Regions from separate parts of the Homo sapiens genome. Here region 1 is linked to region 2. Evidence: promoter capture Hi-C in 16 types of primary human blood cells and fetal thymus (Javierre and others, 2016). All regions are on one chromosome and are shown on one strand. The core of a region is centred on a gene start or on the middle of the fragment in contact, and the rest is flanking DNA. Distances in the headings are between cores, read along the strand shown. Region 1 overlaps THEMIS (thymocyte selection associated). Region 2 holds the start of PTPRK-AS1 (PTPRK antisense RNA 1).

Region 1 (4,847 bases), core at 2,244-4,743, 140 kb before region 2:
ATATGTACAAATTGTATATCTAATATATTTGCAAATCAAATATCCAGAATAAAAAAAGAATTCTTATAACTCAGTAAAAGGAAGACAACACAATTAAAAATGGGTGAATGATTTGAAGAGACATGTGATCAAAGAGGACAAATAAACTGCTAATAAGCATAAGAAAAAGTACTCAACATTAGTTGTCATTAAGGAAATGCAAATTAAAACTACAATGAGATACCACTGGCTATAAAGGGAGAAAATACCAAGTCTTAGCGTGGATGTTAAGAAACTGGGATCCTTATACATTAATGGTAAAAATGTAAAATGACATATTATTCATAATACTTGCAATCATGAAACAATCTGAGTGTCCATCAACTGGTGTTAAACGAAATGTGGTATATCCATACAATAAAATACTATTTACCAATAAAAAGGAACAAAATACTGATGTATGCTACAATATAGATGAACCACAAACACATACTAAGTGAGAGAAGCCAGATAAAAAAGACTGCATATTGTATGACTTACTTTATATGAAATGTCTATAGAAGGCAAATTTATAGACAGAAAGCAGATCAGTTGTTGCCTAGGGCTAGAAATGCCCATAGAGATTAATGGCAAAGAACCCAGGCTAATTCTTTAAGATGATGAAAATGGTCTTAAATCGATGATGATTATACAACTCTATCAATTTACTTAAAACCATTCAGTTGTATACTTATAGTGGTTGAATTTTATGGTATATAAATTATACCTTGATAAAACTGTAAGAAAAATCTAATAAGAGAGGACATAAAAACATGCTATACCTAACTTATACGTAAGAAAGAGCTAGGTGCTTCAGTACAGAGGAAAATGAAGACCGGAATATGGAAGACAGGGAATCCAGGGAAAGGGGAGTAGAAAAATTGCAAGAATAAAGAGGCAGCTGGGGTAAACCTCGTAGAGAAGGGAGTTAGTCAAGTCGATGTCCTGAAGAAGAGTTTTCCAGATGAAAAGTGTGAACAAAGCTTTAAGGCAGGAGAATATCCCCAAATTTGAGGAACAGTGAAGTGGCTAGTATGGCTAGGAGGAGAAGCAGATTAATAAGCAATAAACTCAGATAAATAATGCAACATGGAGACAATGTGGGGACTTATTACCCATATAAGATTTTTATTTTGAGAAAAAATGGAGGGTTTTTAACAGAGGAGTGACATAATCTGACATCCATGATTCTAGATGCTATGTTGAGAATAGATTTTAGAAATGAAAGAAGGAAGAGCATTTAGGAGATTTTGATAATCTTAGCAGTAAATTATGATGGCTTGAACTAAGGGGATAAATGGAAGTTGTGGGAAATTATGGGGTTCCCTATAAAGCATGGGGAAAAGGAATTTGGGCATCAATTTTCTTTTCTTGAAAGTTAATTCATATTTTTATAAAAATTATAACAGAATACATCAAAATGTTAACCATATTTCTCTCTGTTTGGTGGCATTATGGGTAATTATGCATTTCTGCATTTATAAAATTACCAACCATGCACATGTGTTTTTCTAAAGCAAAAAAAAATTAATATCCAGCTCTTCAAAAGAGATCATAATGCAAACCAATTTTGTTTTTTGCCAAATTTTTAAATCAACACCAAAATGGCTACATATACAAAGTCAACAGGGGTAAATGGTAATGTTAGCAATATGAAGAGTAGTTAAAGAAGCAACAGATGCTTCCTGAATAGAGTGATAAAATCACTTTCTTATGAACATGTGGTAGCATTATTACCCAAGTAACTTCCCTGACATTATATGACTCTCTTTAGAATATGCCTGGTTTTGAATTTTTTGAAGTTGATAATAACTTCAGTTCCAGTCATAATAAAAATAATTTATTGTATCAGTGAGAGAAGTGTAGCTTATATTAAGATAACAACTTCAAAATCTCAGAGATTAAACAATAAAGTATATTTCTTATTTCACTACATGTCAGGTACAGGTGGATGAGGACATGTTCTCTGCTAATTATAGTCACTTAGCAACATAGGCTATTGAAGATTTCATTTTGACATAGTCTACCATGATGAAATATGTTTAATTATGAACTGGTTCTTAAAGTATCTGTTCCAAATTATACATATTATTTTTGTTCTCAGTACATTTGCCAATACAAGTCATGTGATCATGTGACCACAAAAGGGTTGGGAAGTACAAGCATACCATGTACTCAAAAGAGGTGGAAAAGTGGAATAGATGAACACCATTTTTTTCCTCAGATTTGTTCTTTGGTTATAAACTGCTCACTTAAAGAACTGAAGAGGACAAGATAGCACAAGTCAATTTATCTATGGCATATGTCATACATAATTATCCACAGCTTTAATCTGAGAGGGACTCATAACATCAATTGTGTTAGCTCCTTGCAGGGATCTCTAAATTGGGCCACATATTCCAAAGAGTATTACAAGATATGAGGTTAAAGTGGAAAATAGTAGAACTTCGTATTCATTTCCACATAAAACAAATAAGAAAACTAAACTATACTAATATTTAACAGAAAGAGTTATATTAGTTAATTTCAAGGTTGCTAGTATTTAATATTAAAAATCCTAATTTATCTCTGCATCGGATAGTCATATGACATGTATGGTAAGTCACATACTAAGATAGATTGGGAATTTCAAAAAATGAGTTAAAGGAATTGTTTTAATTCATTCATTTACTTTCAATATACTACAACATAATGCAGGTGAAGTTAAGTTGATTTAAGAATTGTTATAATCTAATTCTATCTATACTCACTCTCACAAAATAGACATAACGTCACAAGATGCCAACACAGACATTTGAGAATTAAAGATTGCAGGCCCTATCAAGAAGAAAATGATAGAGTGACACGTCTTCTATTAGCACAATCTTGTCATTGTCTGCGTACAACTGCTATCTAATGAAACTGCCAAAATCAGATTTAGGAAGATTATTTCACAACATGAAATTTATGAAGATTATTTCACAGAGTGATAGCCACAAATATTAATGATAAACCTGCTGTATGAGTAGATTACATACAATGTATATTGGACCTTGATGAGGTATCTTCAATAGCTGTCATTCAAAACAAGCACTAAAATAAATTAATTAGAACCATTCGAATCACTGGGTCACATGATAATCAGCATTTTCCAAAACAGTATTCAGTAATAAAAACATGTAGTATTTTCAATAATTTTCAGTAACATGACTTCTGCTAAAAATAGATTGATAGTTAATATGTTTTATTCTCATTCATATGTGGTAGCTAAAAATATTGATCTCATGGAGGGAAGAGAGTAGAATGGTGGTTACCAGAGGCTAGAAAGGGTAGCGGGGAGAAGGGGGTGAAGTGAGATTGGTTAATGGATACAGAAATACAGTTAGCTAGAAGGAATAAAGCCTAGTGTTCAATAGCACAGTAGGGTGATCATAGTGAATAATAACTTATTGTCTATTTCAAAATAACTGGAAGAAAAAATTTGGAATAGTCCCAAAACAAAGAAATGATCAATGTTTGAGGTGAACAGTATCCTAATTACTCTAACTTGATCACGCTGTATGTATGAATCAAAATATTACATGTACCCCATAAATATGTACAATTATTATATATTAATTTAAAAACTAGCTAGTTGTTACAATAGAATTAACAGCTTTTGTGAGAAAAATAGTGTATATTATTAACAAAAATTAAAATTGTATATTATCAATTTTATCTTTCTTTTTTATAATTTTATTATTATGTATGCTTTGGAAGGAATATAAATATCAATAGAGAAATACATGTATGGAAAGCGGCATCCTCTTTTTTTAAATTGATGAGGTTTTTGATCAAATAAAGTCCTGATCAATTAGGTAATGGATAGGGCATTCCAACCACAAGCATCCTCTGTGCCCAAGTTGGATTTTTAATTGCCTAACTTGAAATATCCACTTGGCTGAGTAATAGATATTTATATTTAATATGTCCAAAACAAAACTTTTGTTTTTCTCACTAAAATCTCATCTTCCCCTGGTCTTCATGACTCTGTCAAATACACAAACATTTACCCAGTGGTTTAGGCCAAAATCTTGAATTCATCCTTTAGTCTTTTCATTTTCTCACCTCAATTTCAAATCCATTAGAAAGTCCTTACATTTCGGCCAGGCGCGGTGGCTCACACCTGTAATCCCAGCAGTTTGGGAGGCCAAGGCAGATGGATCACCTGAGGTCAGGAGTTCAAGACCAGCCTGATCAATATGGTGAAATCCTGTCCCTACTAAAAATGCGAAAAAATAATTAACCAGGCCTGGTGGCGGGCACCTGTAGTCCCAGCTACTCGTGAGACTGAGACAGGAAAATCGCTTGAATCCGGGAGGTGGAGGTTGCAGTGAGCTGAGATTGCGCCACTACATTCCAGTCTGGGTGACAGAAAGAGACTCCAGCTCAACAAAAAAAAAAAAAAAAAAGAAAGAAACAAAGAAAAAGAAAGTCCTGACATTTCTACCTCCAAAGCATCTCTTGAACTGTTCCTTTCTCTTCACACTAAATCAAGGCACCATCAACTCTCCTCTAGATTATTGCAGTCTCCTAATATATCATTCCACTTTTGCCTCACTAATGCCTGTTCTCCCCAAAATAGCCAGTGATCTTCCTCAAATGGCAATCAGGTCTTGTCAGTCTGCTGCTCAAACTGGTCATTGGCGTCTCATAAAACCCAAACTCCTTGAAATGCTCTTGCCCACTCCTTAAACCTCTTCTCATATGTTCTTCTCCCTGCTTTATATGTGCTCAAGGTACAGGGATATGTTTTCTCTTCCTCAAACAGACAAAGCTCCTTTTGGTCCCCAGATGTCTGCACTGTCTGT
Region 2 (4,786 bases), core at 1,978-4,477:
ATCTCTACTAAAAATACAAAAAATTAGCTGGGCATGGTGGCAGGCACCTATAATCCCAGCTACCTGGGAGGCTGAGACAGGAGAATTGCAACCTCCTGGGAGGCAGAGGTTGCAGTGAGCCGAGATCGTGGCACTGCACTCCAGCCTGAGTAACAGAGCAAGATTCCTTTTCAAAAACAAAAACAACAACAACAACAAACCAGGCCTATATTGTAATCACTGATAATTGCTAGAATTTATCATTAGATTTTTCAGGATCATTAGATTTTTCAGCAATATAGTTTTGCAATTTATTAACATGTACCAAAAGAATGAATATGAGAGAATAGAATGTAAATTGTAATATTTACCTTTTCAACTAAGATCACACAGTACTAGTTTATTTTGCAGTACAACAAGTTTGTCTTTGACATATGTGGAATAAATTCTACAAAGCTGAAAGAATTTGCCAGTCCTTTTAAATTAAGATTATCTCAAGCTATTTCCAAATCCTCAACAAACTGAAACATGGTTTTTGCATTCTGCATGTAGGAATGTGGCTGACAACAAAGATTTGCATAAGACACTCCACTCTCTCCCTGTGAGGCCAAGTTTTGTATTCCTTCATTAGTTTGTATGAATTCATATAACGAAGTCTCTGGCTCAGACAGATTGTTTTCTCTAACTTTTGTTATATGAAGATTATTTCAGCTGAACCTGAAAGGAGACACACATTCTTATACATCTTTTGCAAAATTGTCCTACCTTATAGAGGAAGAATAAGTAAACACATTTAAATCAAGATGAAAATCAATAGTTTGTAGATTAGAAAACCCTGGTTCTATCTAGCTCAAATAAGATCAAATGCTGACTTAACAACTGCATCTAAAAGAAAAAGTCATAAAATAATTTTCTATGTCTGTATTAGTTTCTCAAGGCCACTGCAGAAAACTGCCACACACTTGATGGCTAAAAACCACACATATTTATTCTCTTACAGTTCTGGGAACTAGAGGGCCCCAAAGCAGTATCACTGGGCCAAAATCAAGGTGTCAGTAGGGTTACCCTCGCTGCTGAGGCTCTAGAAGAGAACTCATTCCTTGCCTTTTCCAGCTACCAGTGCTGCTGGCATTCCTTGACTTGGGGTTACATGACTCCAGTCTCTACCTCTGTGGTCACATTGACTTCTCCTCTGTCAAATCTTCCTCTGCTTTGCTCTTATAAGAATACATGTAACTGGATTTAGGGCCCACACTGTTAATCCAGTATAATCTACCTTGTCAAGATCCTTTACTTAATCACATTTGCAAAGACCGCTTTTCCCTAAAAGATAACATTTACAGCTTATTGGGATTAGGACCTGGTATCTTCCAGTAGCCATTATTCAGCCTACTAAAATCTATATGCTTTCCAATGTATTTTTAAACAGAATTTTTCAAGGTATAGGCTTTAAAAAATTAAGAGAATCCCAAGAGATCTAAACAGTAAGAGAGAGAGGCCTAAGTGATGATATTGAGTGGTATTGAACAAAATAAGACAAAGAAGATCATCTGCCATATTTGACAGATGTTGGTAGACAACATCTTCTCTTCATGTTCCGTTGTTTGTAATTTGTTTTTACTGCTACCAGAACCTCTTACAATTCTCTACTCACTCATGTAAATACTAGCTGCAGAAGGTCTGGCAAAACTTTCTCCTATTTGTATATGTGTAAAGTGGTCTTTCCCTTACATCAAGTTAAAGAAAAAATACAGTTGTAATAGCTACTTCCCAATAGCCAAAGGGTTGTATTTGAAAGAGGGATGAAAATCACTCCAGGTACCAAGAAAAACTACTGTGTGATCTGGGACAAGTTATCTGCTTTTTTTGAGACCCACTTTTCTCATCTTTACAATGAAATAACTAAATTCTGCTCTCTAGGCTTGTTCTGAAGATTACTGAATATACATTTAAAGTACCTAGAAGTATTTGACACATAGCAGGAACTTAATATACAATTACTGGTATTACTATTAAGGATTAAGAAAGCACTGGCATGCAACATATTATATATTTGACAAGATTACATCATCTTGAAAAAATATAAGAAGTATTCTTTTTGTATAGTACTTTAAGGAGGATATTATTCATTTTATATCATTTTCCTTCTCACTGTGATATGTAGAATATATCACACCAAAATTGTGGTTGACCCAACACTCCAACCAGTGTCCTATTTTATTCACTCTGTATTTCTTAATCTATTCAATAAATATTACTAAATCCATTTGCTGTGCTAGATGCTGAGGGAGGTGTGTGACACAGCCTGTAGTCTAGTAGGGGAGGTAGGCATTAAATAATTAACTCCAGTCAATTTCAGTGCTATATATGAAAAAGACAATTCACTCCTTTTTATGACTTGACTTACAGCTCACAGTGCCCAGAAAACTGGGATTCTTGATAGAATGCGCCACATATATCCTAATTAGCAACAATCACTAGTTTGGCCCCATAATGTACATACCTAACACACACTTTCACAGGCAAGAGAAGAAAATACCTATCATCATATTATGATCAAAGTATTTTGAAGTAAAAATACTTCCTCATTATTTCTTAGAATACTGCATACAGCAATTCCTTTAAAAGCAGACTCTACTAGCATGTTTCCCACTGAACAGAACTGTTTGTCCATTTAACCAAAAGGTATTTATTGCCCGGGAATTCATTAGTTCATTATTTGAAGAAATACGTATATTGGGCAAGAATGTAAATCAGGCTGTTTAGTTATCACATGAAAATGCATAAAACAGTACCCACATTCAAAGAGTTCAAAGAGTCCTTCAGGAAATCAGGTGCCTAAAAGTCAAACTGACCTTTAAAAAAAAAATGTTCATAGCTTCCTCTGTTAAATGAATGATCGTTTCAGAGCTTTCTAAATGCCAAACTCTTTTAATATATTATTTCAATTAGCTTTCACAAGCACTTATGAGGCTTGTTGTATGTTTTTTTTTTCCTTTGAGACAGAGTCTTGCTCTGTCACCGAGTCTGGAGTGCAGTGGAGCCATCTCAGGTTACTGCAACCTTCTCCTGGGTTCAAGCAATTCTCCTACCTCAGCCACCCGAGTAGCTGGGACTACAGGCGTGTGCCACTGTGCCTGACTAATTTTTGTTTTTAGTAGAGACGGGGTTTCACTCTGTTGGCCAAGTTGGTGCGTACTCCTGGCCTCAAGTGATCCGCCCACCTTGGCCTCCCAGAGTGCTGGGATTACAGGCATAAGCCACTGTGCCCAGCTGTATCTTCTTTTACCGATGAGGACACTGACAGGTTGGTATCACCTCTTTCCTAGTCTATATTGCAGCCACTCCCTTATTGAAGTTTCTGACTCCAAGTCCTACTCATCCTAATCTACCTGCAGCTTTTAAGGTGTCATTTTTCTAAAACTTAAATATGATCCTATCATTGTTCTTCTTAATAGCCTACAAAGATTTCAGGGAAAATGAAAATGACGAATATAAATTATACTGCACACACTATTTATAATAATATTTAGCCACTTAAAATTAAAACACATAAAAATGTGGGTAAAGCTCATGGTAAAATAGTAACTACAAATAATTACAAGTCACAATCTTTGCAATTATGAGAAATGTTTAAGTAAGCACCTGATAAAAAAAAGGAAAAAGCAAAAGTGATAACAGTTGCTTAGAATATTGTTTCAGAACACCTTTTAAGGTTACCACACTGTTTTAATTTTTAAAGTGGAAGAGAAAGTGCTTTAGCACTGTTGATAGCTGCCACCCTGCCCTCAAGATAAAGTGAATCTTGAGTCTTACAGCCCTTTCTCATATCTGTATCAACATACATTTTAGCCTAATTTCTTACTAACTCCTCAGTATATTCTTGAACACTGCATTAACTTTCATGTCTAACTGCAAACCTCTGCCCATGCTGTTACCAGTGTGGATATGGTCTCTGGTTTTTCTACCTATTTAAATGTCACTTTGTATGGAATTCTATTTCATGTTTAGGCACACTGCATGAAATTATTACTTCAACTATCAGGTTCTTTCACAATTCACAACTTCTTGAGAGCATGGAACATATCCTATGTATTTTTAGTATTTTCTCAATGCCTAGTGTAAGACATATGGCAGAGAGTAAGTGTGCAACAAAATTGTGTTAATATTCATATTTTTCATAAGTGAAAACAATTTTTTTGTTGATATGATGCTTTGATGGTTTCTGATTTAAGGTTAGGATGTTAAACGGACTCTATTTTTACATGACCATAATTCTACTCCCCAATTCTGTTCCTAAATCTTTAGTGAGCTAAGAATTCAGATTCATGGTAAGGTTAGAATTGTGCTGGACTGCTTGTGACTTCAACTATCCATCTTCCATGGTCAGTTCTTGATCAACTGATACAGTTTGGGTGTTTGTGCCCTCCAAATCTCATGCTGAGATGTATTCCCCAATGCTGGAGATGGGACTTGGTGGGAGGTTTTTGGTTTTGGGGGTTGGCTCTCTCACGAATGCCTTGGTGCCATCCTCACAGTAATGAGTGTTCTTGTGAGATCTGGTTGTTTAAAGAGTGTGGACCTTCCCTCTCCTGTCTCCCTCTCTTGCCAAGTGATACATGGTTCCCCTTCACCTTCTGCCATGATTGTAAGCTCCCTGAGGCCCTCACCAGAAGCAGATGCCAGCACTACGCTTCCTCTACAGCCTGCAGAACCATGAACCATTTAAACCTCTTCTCTTTATAAACTACCCAGTCTCTGACTGCATGCAGTGGCTCACACCTGTAATCCCAGCACTCTGGGAGGC

Evidence for each region. The method cuts DNA at HindIII sites, captures the fragments that hold promoters and counts their contacts. A CHiCAGO score of 5 or more calls a contact.
Region 1: a contact is called between a fragment that was not itself captured here and the fragment with the promoter of PTPRK-AS1 in region 2, in 2 of 17 cell types (naive CD8 T cells and total CD8 T cells). The highest score is 8.2, in naive CD8 T cells.

The regions. Positions count from the first base shown.
Region 1 is chr6:127,887,109-127,891,955 of GRCh38, forward strand. The region is part of intron 1 of THEMIS (thymocyte selection associated); the gene reads right to left. Among named protein-coding and RNA genes, the nearest start is that of THEMIS, 12 kb to the right of the region's middle. The HindIII fragment of the contact is 4,989 bases long and covers 1,000-4,847 here.
Region 2 is chr6:128,024,638-128,029,423 of GRCh38, forward strand. It overlaps PTPRK-AS1 (PTPRK antisense RNA 1), which reads left to right and starts at 3,228. Exons shown (of 5, transcript NR_125849.1): 1 at 3,228-3,286. All of the region lies in intron 13 of PTPRK (protein tyrosine phosphatase receptor type K), which reads right to left. The HindIII fragment of the contact is 8,791 bases long and covers 1-4,786 here.